Regions from separate parts of the Homo sapiens genome. Here region 1 is linked to region 2. The links are contacts of gene promoters, found by promoter capture Hi-C in blood cells and fetal thymus (Javierre and others, 2016). All regions are on one chromosome and are shown on one strand. Each heading gives the region's core, a stretch centred on a gene start or on the middle of the fragment in contact. The rest is flanking DNA. Distances are from core to core; before and after follow the strand shown.

What was found. Contacts are between HindIII fragments. The CHiCAGO score rates a contact against its expected background, and 5 or more counts as called.
Region 1: a contact is called between the fragment with the promoter of SRBD1 here and the fragment with the promoter of MSH6 in region 2, in 2 of 17 cell types (non-activated CD4 T cells and total CD8 T cells). The highest score is 9.9, in non-activated CD4 T cells.

What each region holds. Positions count from the first base shown.
Region 1 is chr2:45,607,962-45,614,465 of GRCh38, forward strand. SRBD1 (S1 RNA binding domain 1) reads right to left here and starts at 3,306. Exons shown (of 21, transcript NM_018079.5): 1 at 3,258-3,306. RefSeq lists an enhancer at 2,957-3,126. The HindIII fragment of the contact is 4,677 bases long and covers 13-4,689 here.
Region 2 is chr2:47,779,057-47,784,775 of GRCh38, forward strand. It overlaps MSH6 (mutS homolog 6), which reads left to right and starts at 4,089. Exons shown (of 10, transcript NM_000179.3): 1 at 4,089-4,437. The coding sequence starts at 4,178. RefSeq lists silencers at 2,330-2,511, 3,662-4,141, 4,422-4,581, 4,782-4,871 and an enhancer at 3,462-3,531. The HindIII fragment of the contact is 5,497 bases long and covers 250-5,719 here.

The DNA.
Region 1 (6,504 bases), core at 2,056-4,555, 2.2 Mb before region 2:
TTGAAGGTGCTAAGCTTCCCATCAAACAACCCACCCAGATCACCTTACAATCACTCCTACCACCACATTCTACAATATGCCTGAATTCAGAACATTCCCACACAGACTACCATATACTAATTCTATCTCCACACTTCAGCCTTAACAGAAATGTGTTTAAAATAGGGACAGGCAAACCCTTGGCAGGCTTATGTTTTTGCTTAACCATTATCCTTAAAGAAGGCTCCCCTAAATCAAATATTTCCAACTGCCTCTTTATAAGGCACCCCGAAAGCAATATACCATGGAAAGATGAGTGAGTTGTAATATTTCTTTTCACAAATGTTAAAAATATCAATGTAAAAGGAAAGGTGGGAAAGCAGAATCTGCATGAACACACAAGCCAATTTCAAGCAGATCAGATTTAGAAAGAATATATACAAAAGCTGAAGACTTGGAAATTATGTCTTTAAAACTACCTACGACAGGTACACCCCCAGGAGTATGTATTCTCCAGTTTAAACACCAATATTCTTGAGGCCTGTTTCTCCATCTCCACTACTCCCATATCCTCTTACTTTGTGTCATAAAACTTGTTAGATTAACCAAAACCTCATCCATCTCCACGGTTTTACATACCGATGTCACCTACTTATTAACAATCCTAATCCCTCCATCCCAAACCGTGCCTTTAACATTCAGATTTCTATAATAAACTGCCTGTCTCTGAAACTATTTAGATGTCTCACAGTTAACTTAACACATCCACAATGGAACTCTTGATGACCATTTCTTGCTCTAAAACCTGTTCCTATTCCAGTCCTTCCCATCTCAATAAGTGGCACCCACCTATTTGCTAAGCCAGAACCTTGAAAAAAAAAATTTTTTTTTTTTTTTGAGACGGTCTCACTCTGTCACCCAGCCTGGAGTGATCTCAGCTCACTGCAAACTCTGCCTCCCAGGTTCAAGCAATTCTCCTGCCTTAGCCTCCTAAGTAACTGGGATTACAGGCGTGTACCACCACACCCAGCTAATTTTTCTATTTTTGATAGAGACGGGGTTCGTCACGTTGGCCAGGCTGGTCTCGAACTCCTGGCCTCAGGTGATCTGCCTGCCTCGGCCTCCCAAAGTGCTGGGATTACAAGTGTGAGCCATGGCGCCTGGCCAGAAAATTCTTTAACAGCTTCATTGACATATAATTGACATGCAATACACTGCACATGTTTAAAGTGTGCAAATTTGATGTTTTGACATATGTATACATATCACTACAATCAAGAAAATGAACACATTATCATCCTCCAAAGTTCCATTTGCTAAGTCAAAATGTTACAAATCTTTTTTTCTTTCATCTCACATATCCAGACTATTAGTAAGTCACATAAGATCCTCCTCCAAAATGTCTTGAATCTCCACGATCTTCAGTGAGCCTTTAGTCCTCAACCTCCCTCACTTGAACTACCACACTCGCCTCTTAACTGCCCTCCCTACTTCCACTCTTGCCCCTGCAACTCATTCTCCACTTATCAACTCAAGATCATTTAGAATATGCTTTAGAAACAACGAATTACTTCCCACCCCATCCTTCACTTAGAATCAAGCCACATTTTTATGAGGCCTTTGAAAAGGCCCTGTCGGACTGAGCCCTGCTCACCTTTCTAACCACCTTTACTACTTGCTGGAGCTCCTCAGCTCTTGTCATAACATTCTTTCCCACCTCAGGTACTCTCTGCCTGGAGTATTCTTCCCCCTGCTTGTCAATTGGCTGGCTCCTTGCATCCCTTAGATCTTAACATTTCAGGCCTAAAATAGGTTTCTCAATTATATTTTAAAAGGAGCCTATTTACTTCCTGTATACAGTAGGTTATAACACAATCTGTAATTATTTTTATTTTACTTGTTTATTGCTTGCACTGCTGTCAAGAGAGTAAATACCATGAAAGAAGGAAATGCATGTGCCTTATTCACTTCCATATCATAGAACCTAGCACTTAACAGATGCCCTACAACTATTAAATGAACATAATATGTACAAATATGGTCTCTACAGAGGAATATACATTTATTTTCCACCACTCTTAGGCAATGCCACACATTGCATTCATCTCTTTCTGAAGAAGTGATGGCACATAAGAATATTCCTATTCTTCAGTGACTTGGGATTTTTCCCTCCTTTCAAACTATCTTAATCACTGTAGGCACATGAGCATATTCCAAACCAATAATTTGGAGGTTGCTATGATGTTACTAAGGGAAGAGCCACTAAACTAGGACGACTGCAAATCAGGACAAAGGGGCAAAAGGACGTGCACACTAACAAATACTAAATTAAAATTGGAAAAAAAAATTTAAATTCAAGAAGGCAAACAAAGGAGGACAATTTCTTAAGAAGCACCTAAACAAGTTTCCATGAAGGACCAACAGAGTGCTTGAATGTTAGCAGATTCCCAAGTCACAAAAACAAAATACTAGAGCTGAAAGAACCTGAGATCAGACAGTCCCGCTATATTCAGAAATCTGAGACCCAATGAGGTGAAACAGTTTACTCAAAGGGGAAAGATATGTGGCAAAGGACTATAGCCCAGTGCCTGGAACACCAAGACTAGTCTCGTTTCCCATTCCACACACAATATGTTAATGACATGTCACGTGAGGGGTTCGAGGAAAGTTGCCTAGAGAGTTCCCAATTCATTCCTTTCCTCCGGTTACTGAGCGCCTCCTACATGCCAGGCGCACTACAGAAGGTGCAGTTGATTCAGACAGGGCCACCATGACCGTGAAAAGGGTGCTTCCTCTCCCACCTCCGATAATTTTAGGTATAAAAACAATCCAGGTAAATTAGCCGGGTGTGATGACGGGCGCCTGTAGCCCCAGCTACTCGGGAGGCTGAGGCAGGCGAATGGCGTGAATCCGGGAGGCGGAGCTTGCAGTGAGCCGAGATCGCTCCACTACACTCCAGCCTGGGCGACAGAGGGAGACTCCGTCTCAAAAAAAAAAAAAACAGGCTTGCCCAGGCTTTTCTATGTCTGTTATGCGCTAAGAGCTGCAGCAATTTGGCTGAAAAGAGGTGTCACGAGGTAGCTAGGAGGGGTTTTCGGGTGGTCGGTTGTGAGAGACCGCTGACAGTAAAATGTAATGAACTTCTCACTTTTAAAAAAGGGGTGTTATTGCCCAAATGAGCGCTCAGAACTTTTTTAATGGCCCCAAAGATCCCGGAGCCCGGACGCCGGGCTCTTGAGAACCCGCAAGACGACCGCCAAGGCGCACGCACAGCTCACCTTCCCGCCCGGCACGTCAGAAGACCCGAGATTCCGTGAGTGCCACCGCACCTTCCGGTTCCCGCCGGAAGTTTTTCAAACGCCAGAAGGTCCGCCTCGCTTCTTCCGGACCAAGTTAGCCACAGACCTCCAAGGCGCGGCGCTACCGAACGGGGCGGAGCCAGGCTGGACGGAGGCGGGGCTAGAGCGAGGATCCCGAGGGAGCGCCGGGGTGGGGCTGGTTCGTAGAAATGAAAAATGACTTTTTTTTTACGTGTTATTTACCAAGAACACTAAACTCTTAAGCCCACAGATACAGCCAAATAAATTAGATTATAAAAGTAGGGAAATAAGGCTGCTGTTGTCTACATTCGAATTTAGCAGATCAAAACCCCATGGATTTGTTTTAGAAAATTCTAAAAAGCAGCTTTCCACTGCTAATGACTTATTTCCAGGGACTCTGAGTACTGAAGAGCCTAGCAAGTTATTGAAATGACCTGTGACCGTGCCTTGTTGCAGATCTACCGGAAGTGAGCATAGATTTTACTGGATAATTTTTGTGATTGGGGGAAAAAAAAAAGGATTCTTTCTAAATTTAGTAAATCTAATCTTCTATATCTGAGATTGTTGGCCAGGAAAGATCAGTTTCCGAGATTGTTTAGGGATTTTTTTTTCCTTTTAATTAGCACAGTCGTATGTTGCCTTTAGTGATGGTTCCAGAAGGCCTAGAATTGTCTACTACAATCACAGTCTCCTTCACAATTTATGGTCCTGAAGAAATACTAGAGAACACCTTACCGTTCAGGATTGTGGGAAGAGAAACCAGATCATAGAAATCAACAACAATAATGTACTACTTACTATTCACCTACTTTTGATGTTGCATTTGCTACTCAGGTTTATGGTAAGGGGTTGTCTTGGTCAATTTTCTGCTGCTGTAACCAAATACCATAGACTGGTAGATTTATAAAGAAAGAGATTTGTTTGGCTTGTAGTTCTGAAGGCTGGGAAGTCCAAGACAGAGGGCATTATTGTTGTGTCAAAATATGATGGAGGGCATCATACTGGGGTAGGGGTGGGGGAGGCATGTGAACCCAATTGACTCCCGAAATAACTAACCCTCCTGTGATAATGGAATTAACTCATTCATGACCTAATCATTTCCTAAAGGTCCCACCTCTTCATACTATTACAATGACAAGTTTCAACTTGAATTTTTGAAGGGGACATTCCAATCATTGCAGAGGTAGTAAGGGTAAAGGTGAACTAATATACTGCAAAGTCTTTTGACATAAGTCCTGCCCTGGAGGAATTTACGACCAAGAGTAGGAACCAGATACAGCCAGAGGAAACAGACACCCAAGCAAAACAGTCTAGCTTCAAGGGTTGGGTATGCAGGTAGTAGCCACACTACAGTGAGGAGGAGAGTAAGAGTGGGCCAGCAAAGCATTGAAGCTTGACTTTCCTCTCCCCACAAGGGATTTTTGCCTTACAGCTGGGGAAGAAAAAAAAAATCACAAAAATAAATAGCCTGTTAAGATTTTAGACATCAGACATCTGGGGAAAATAAAATCTGAAGCAGGTTCTCTAAAATTAAAGTATGTAGGTAGTGGCCTACTCTAAAGGCCAATAAGGACTGTCCAGAGAATATTTCCCTTGGAATTCTATAAGAGAGTCACTCCCACTACACGCTGTCAAGGAAAATTTGTAATCACTTAAGTATAAAACAGGCCCTCCCACAAAAACTGCCTTTTCTGTCTAGGACATTGCCCAATCTATTGTTTACTTTTGGATCTCAAGTGCTGAATTCCAAGAAATTCATGGGTTTAGACTGAAAGCCTGGAATAATCCGGACACCCACCTGAGACTATGCAATAGGGTTTGGGAGTAATGAAAACATGTTTTGGATTTGATGGAGGTTGTTTTATCCCTCCAAAGTATATAGCTCTTCCCATGATATTCACTGATACATTATCATTTGTATGTTATTATCTGTTTTCAAGTCCTTCCCCTATGGGTTCTAGCTCCCCAGGGCAAATGTAATAATAATAGTAATAACTTACCTTTATTGATTACTTACCTGTGCCAGGCACTAAGTTAATGCTTTTAGATGTATTTATGTATATAATTCACATATTACCCCAATGCAATATTGCTATTAAACCATTTTTATAAATGAGAATACCAGGTATAAAGAAGTTAAATAATTCATCTAAGGTCACATCAGCTAATAAATTGTAGATCTGAGATTCAAATCCAATAATCTGCTTTACTCCAAAGCAAGTACTCTGAAAGGTATCCACATACAATTTGCTGTCTATCCACAGGGGATTGGTCTGAGGACCCCCCACAGATAGCAAAATTTACAGATACTCAACCAATCAGTGATAGAAAAAGTTGGCCCACCACATCTGCAGGTTCCATATCCATGAATGCAGATACAGATGGCCAGCTGTACCACAAACTCAAAGCAAAGACCTTTTCTCGCTCCACTATGGTGGCCAGTGAGACTCTCAATGTTTAAGGTGCTCCAGAACTGTCGAATCTCTAAATACTCTAAATAAAGTACTGTCTAACCACCTGAAACATAACAAAGCTATTCTCTCTATTGGCCTCAAACTAAGTTTCATAAGAACAAAAATTCTTAATATATTAATAGATGCAACTGTTTCACCTACTAATAGATATTTGGATCTAGGAACTAACTCTTGGTAATTTTTTATCTCCCCCTCTCCAACTTCTCCCTCCACCTACACAGTGCCTAATAATGCTTAACATATAATAGGTACTCAATAATATAGTAGACTAACTCCTGGACCCAAAAACATGTCTAAAGTAAAAACAAATTTTCCTCCCCTCTCCACCTTCTCCCGCCACCCACACAGTGCCTAATAATGCTTGACATATAATAGGTACTCATTAAAAATAGTACACTAACTCCTGGACCCAATAATATGTCTAGAGTACAAACAAATTTCTCTTATGAGAAAAGTAAGTTAAAGCTCTTGACACAGAAGGTGGGTTGCCATTTTAAAAATCAAGTGTACTTATGAAAATTCAAACATTTTATCTCTGAGAGTCAATCAGTGTGATGGTTAATTTTGGGTGTCATCTTGACTGGATTAAGGGATGCTCAGACAGCTGATAAAACATTACTTCTGTGTGTGTCTGTGAGAGTATTTCCAGAAGAGACTGACATTTGAATCAGTAGACTAAGTAAGGAAGATCTGCCCTCACCCAATTTCGGTGGACACTATCCAATTGGCTG
Region 2 (5,719 bases), core at 2,839-5,338:
TACAACTTTTTTTTTCTTGAATCTCGAAATCTACTTTATATATACCATTTAATAGGGGAAGAGGAGGGAGAAAAAGCCTTCCATGGGAAGAACAAATAGGTTTCTGGGGGAACAAAAGGGAGATAAGAATGTTTGTTTTTGCAGGTGCAAGTGGTCTTTGTCTTTTTTTCTGGCCACTAAAACTCCCCTAGAGAGGAGATTTACGGCAGCTTCACTCCCAGAAATTTCTGCTGTTAGTCGCATAAGGGAAGCTTTGAAACGGCATCTTTCTGCATCTGTTGGCTCTCAAATGTCTTCAGTTCCAAGTAACATTCATGCCAATTCTGGGGGTCTGAGTGTCCCCACATAATACATGTGTTCTCTTGTCTTTTAATGAAGTTTGTGGGAGGCATCTAACTGTAGCCTCCAAAATTTGGCCCATAGGTACTACTGTCCTTATCAAAGACGAGGAAACAAGTTCAGAAAAGTATTAATTGCTCCGAGTTATCTGCTTGGCTAGCTAGGATCAGAGCTCAGTTCTCCATTTAACCCAAAGCCCAGGCTCTTAACCTCTTACAACTGGCGCATCCCCTCTGAACCTCCATTTCCTCCCTGTAAAAGAATAACATCGGCCGGGCGCAGTGGCTCACATCTATAATCCCAGCACTTTGGGAGGCAGAGATGGGCGGATCACGAGGTCAGGAGTTTGAGACCAGCCTGGCCAACATGGTGAAACCCCATCTCTACTAAAAATACAAAACTTAGCTGGGTGTGTTGGTGCCTGTAACCCCAGCTACTCAGGAGACTGAGGCAGGAGAATTGCCTTAACCTGGGAGGCGGAGGTTGTGGTGAGCCAAGATCGTGCCATTGCACTCCAGCCTCGGTGACAGAGCAAGACTCCATCCCCAAAAAAACAAACAACAACAACAAAAAGAGAATAACGTTATATTCAGTTGAACCAAAATGAATTAAATATTAATATTTGTACTTCAAAAACGGTCCAGCTTGGCTGGGCGCAGTGGCTCCCGCCTGTAATCCCAACATTTTGGGAGGCCGAGGCAGGAGGATCATTTGAGGTCAGGAGTTTGAGACCAGCCTGGCCAACATGGTGAAATCCTGTCTCTACTAAAAATACAAAAATTAGCTGGGCAGTAGTAGCGCGTGCCGGTAATCCCAGCTATTCAGGAGGCTGAGGAAGGAGAATTGCTTGAGCTTGGGAGGTGAAAGTTGTGGTGAGCTGAGACTGCACTACTGCACACCAGTCTGGGAGACAGAGTAAGACCCTGTCTCAAAACAAAACAACCAAAAAACCAAAAAGGTCCAGCTTGGGCAACATAGTGAAACTTCGTCTCTACAGAAAATTTTTAAAATACTAGCAGGGCACCGGGCACAGTGGCTCATACCTGTAATCCCAGCACTTTGGGAGGCTGAGGCAGGCGGGTCACTTGTGGTCAGGAGTTTGGGATCAGGCAGGCCAACATGGTGAAACCGTGTCTCTACTAAAAAACAAAAATTAGCTGGGCATGGTGGTAGGCACCAGTAATCCTAGCACTCAGGAGGCTGAGGCATGAGAATTGCCTGAACCCGCAAAGCAGGGGTTGCAGTGAACCAAGATGGCGTCACTGTACTCCAGCCTGGGTGACAGAATAAGACTCCTCAATTAAAAAAAAAAAAAATTAGCTGGGCATGGTGTTGCGGGCCTGTGGTCCCAGGTACTCAGGAGGCTGAGGTGAGAGGATTACTTAAGCCTGGGAGGTTGAGGCTACAGTAAGCCAAGATCACGCCACTATACTCCAGCCTCTGTGACAGAGCCAGACCCTGTCTCAAAAAAATTTTAAAAAGGGCAAATTTTGGCAATTTCACATAGTTCAACCTAGTATAAGGTGGTTGTAATAACTAAATGAGATAAAATGGTGTTAAATTGGAAGTATTATAGTATTTCTGTTAACAACATAGGGCTCCAGAACCAGCTTCCTTGAGTTTAAATCCAGGCTCCACCACTTCCTAGCTATGCAGTCATGGGCAAGTTACTTGACCCAACTGTGCCTCAGCTTCATCCATGATATGGAGATACAGGATAACCAGCCTCTTACGTGCAATTCTGAAATCCAAAAAGCTCTGTAAACCAAAAGTTTGGGGGTAAACTCATTTGGTAGCAAATTTTGACCTGAGGCTATTTATAGTCTATATTCTGTATTCTTTCTACTTAGTATGAATAAGCATGTAAGTTTTACTGCATGTTTGATTTCAGCATGTTCCCCCAGACTCTCTGGGGGTGTTTACGTATGCCGGTGGGGGAAAGAGACCAACTCTCAAATATTATCTCAAACAGTTGGTTTCACTGTGCTTGCTTGGGTAGCACATATACCAAAATTGGAATGACCCCTGCACAGGGATGAAATGCAAATTCGTGAAGCATACTGTATTTTTCTTAGCACATACCACCTTTGGCAATATTCTTTTTTTTTTTTTGAGAGGGAGTCTTGCTCTGTCGCCCAGGCTGGAGTGCAGAGGCGCGATCTCGGCTCACTGCAAGCTCCGCCTCCCGGGTTCACACCATTCTCCTACCTCAGCCTCCCCAGTAGCTGGGACTACAGGCGTGTGCTACCACGCCAGGCTAATTTTTTGTATTTTTAGTAGAGGCGGGGTTTCACTGTGTTAGCCAGGATGGTCTCGATCTCCTGACCTCGTGATCCGCCCACCTCCGCCCCCCCCCCGAAGTGCCGAGTGCTGGGACTACAGGCGTGAGCCACTGCGCCCGGCCCCCGCCTTTTTTTTTTAGATTGATTTTATTACTTGCCTAGCAAAGGAGAACCTTCTGGCAGAACAGTCTCCAAGAACAAGGCAAACAACTAATTTTACATAGGTTTTTACCAATGTACAGCTGTTGATTGTGACTGGTTTCCGGCAATCTGGATTTCACAATCTGGATAAGGGGACAAACAATTGTCTGTCTTCCACTATCTTTCTTGAATTTGAATAGAACCTTTTTATTCTCATAGCCTCTTAGCTTTCTTTCTTTTTTTTTTGAGACGGAGTTTCGCTCTTGTCGCCCAGGCTGGAGTGCAGTGGCGCGACCTTGGCTCACTGCAAACGCTGCCTCCCAGGTTCAAGTTATTCTCCTGCCTCAGCCTCCCAAGTAGCTGGGATTACAGGCGCATGCCACCACGCCCGGCTAATTTTTGGATTTTTAGTAGAGACGGGGGTTTCACCATGTTGACTAGGCTGGTCTTCAACGCCTGACCTCAGGTGATCCGCCCGCCTCGGCATCCCAAAGTGCTGGGATTACAGGCGTGAGCCACTGCGCCCGGCCTCTCATAGTCTCTTAGCTTTCTAAAATTTGAAAAATCCTGTAAAGACACACCTGGGTCAAAGGGCTCAGATAACGGACTGTGGCCCTTAAGTACTTACGTCACAGGTTATTGAGAGGATCGATTTAGTTACCAGATGTAAAATGCTGGGATCAGTGCCTGGCAAAGGAAAACTTTGTACAGCTGCAGGCTTTCACCATACACAACAGCATCGCTAACGAATGCTATTACAATATTCATTTAGCGTTTACCAAGTGCCTACTCTATACAAATCTTGAGAATACAACGTGAAGGTGAACTGCTGACTAAAGTTTGGTCCCTTTCGCTCCGTCTCCTTGCGAAAATGCTCTAACGGCAGGAGGTCACGCGAGCGCTGGACGCGTTTCTCCCCGCGAGCCCCTTTCCGAGGCCTTTCGGGTCCCCCCGGTTATCCCCGCCCGGGCGGTGCGCGCCCCCGCTGTTCCCGCTTCCGCTCCAGAGAGGCAGGGCTTTCCGAGCCTGCTAGCCCCGCGGCCGCAACTAACCCCGGGTCGGAGTGTTCCGGCCCGGCCAGCCCCGCGGCGTGAGGGAAGGGGAGCTCAGCAGTTCCCCGCGCGGGGCCCAGGCGTCGGCGGCAGGGCGGGCCCCTCACCGCCAGCGTGCCAGCCCCGCCCCTACCCACCAGTGTGCCAGCCCCGCCCTTCCCCACGTCGCCGCGCGCCCGGGGGCGGGGCCTGGCGCGCACCGCCCGCGCACGGCGAGGCGCCTGTTGATTGGCCACTGGGGCCCGGGTTCCTCCGGCGGAGCGCGCCTCCCCCCAGATTTCCCGCCAGCAGGAGCCGCGCGGTAGATGCGGTGCTTTTAGGAGCTCCGTCCGACAGAACGGTTGGGCCTTGCCGGCTGTCGGTATGTCGCGACAGAGCACCCTGTACAGCTTCTTCCCCAAGTCTCCGGCGCTGAGTGATGCCAACAAGGCCTCGGCCAGGGCCTCACGCGAAGGCGGCCGTGCCGCCGCTGCCCCCGGGGCCTCTCCTTCCCCAGGCGGGGATGCGGCCTGGAGCGAGGCTGGGCCTGGGCCCAGGCCCTTGGCGCGCTCCGCGTCACCGCCCAAGGCGAAGAACCTCAACGGAGGGCTGCGGAGATCGGTAGCGCCTGCTGCCCCCACCAGGTAGCGGGGTGGGGGTGGGGTCGAAGGCGGGGGCATAGCGGCGGGGCGCTTGGAACCCGGCGAGGGGAGGCTCGCACAGGGGGTTGGGGGGGTGCACGGCCTGGCCCTGGGCTCGGAGGAGGCGGGGCCGCAGAGTTGGCTTGAATGAGTGCAGGGGTCGAGTCTGGAGCATTTGGGGGTGTAGCTTGTAAACAGGGTCGGAGGAGAGAGGCTGTGCAGGAAGAGGGCTGCAGGGGAGACGCGGAGAGTTCGGGCCTTTTGGAGGGAGGAGACGCGTCCCGCCAGGTGGGGGTGCTGGGCTAAGGAAGGGGCGACGCGCGCAGCTCCGGGTGGGGAGGGGGCCTGGGAGGTGGGAGCACTGGGGGTGGGGCGAGAAGGGGAAGGCGCCCGGCCCACTTGGTGGGCGGGGCGGGGGGCGGGGTGGCGGGAAGGAGGAATGCCTGCGGGAGGCCGAACGGGGAGAGTCCGGTGGTGTGGGGTGCGAAAGGAGGTTCCTCGGCCGGCGCGGAGATAGTGAGTTGGGGCTCCAGTAGTCGATCGAGGTAGACACTTAGAGGTAGTTAAGAGCCGCGGTCGCCGAGACGCCTTGGGGACGGTGGGCCTTCGGCCTAGGTGAGGGGCCGCCGAGGGGGTGGGCCACGAGCTGCGAGCGCGGGGGGGTGTGTCACCATGGGGACCGCGGGGCCTAATTGGGCGGGGCGGGGCCGTGGGGAGCCGAAGTGCTGGGATCCGGCTGGGTCCTTCGGTAGGTAGGCTGCACGTGCACCGAGACGAAGATAGAATATTTTGACGTATGTGGAAATTCGTGTCGAGTGGAAAATATTTTATTTTATGAAATAGTGTAATTTTTATGGGGCACCACTGGGCTTTTAGAGGCCTTAATCGGGCGCTGGACAAAGATGTGTGGACGTGAGTGACTCCGGGGAAGCCTGTCGGGAGTTGTCCTCACTTTATGGGCAGTTAAGTGCTTTTTTTTTTTTTTCCTTTTTGAGAGAGAGTTTCGCTCAAGTCCAGGCTGGAGTGCAATGGCGCGATCTCAGCTCACCGCAATCTCCGCGTCCCGGCTTCAAGCGATTCCCCAGCTTCAGCCTCCCGAGTAGTCGGGATTACAGGAATGCGCCCCCACACCCCGCCAATTTTGTATTTTTAGTAGAGACGGGGTTTCTCCATGTTGGTCAGGCTAGTCTCGGAATTCCCGACCTCAGGTGATCCACCCGCCTCGGCCTCAAAGTGCTGGGATTACAGGCGCTAGCCACCGCGCCCGGTCTGTTTAGGGCTTTTT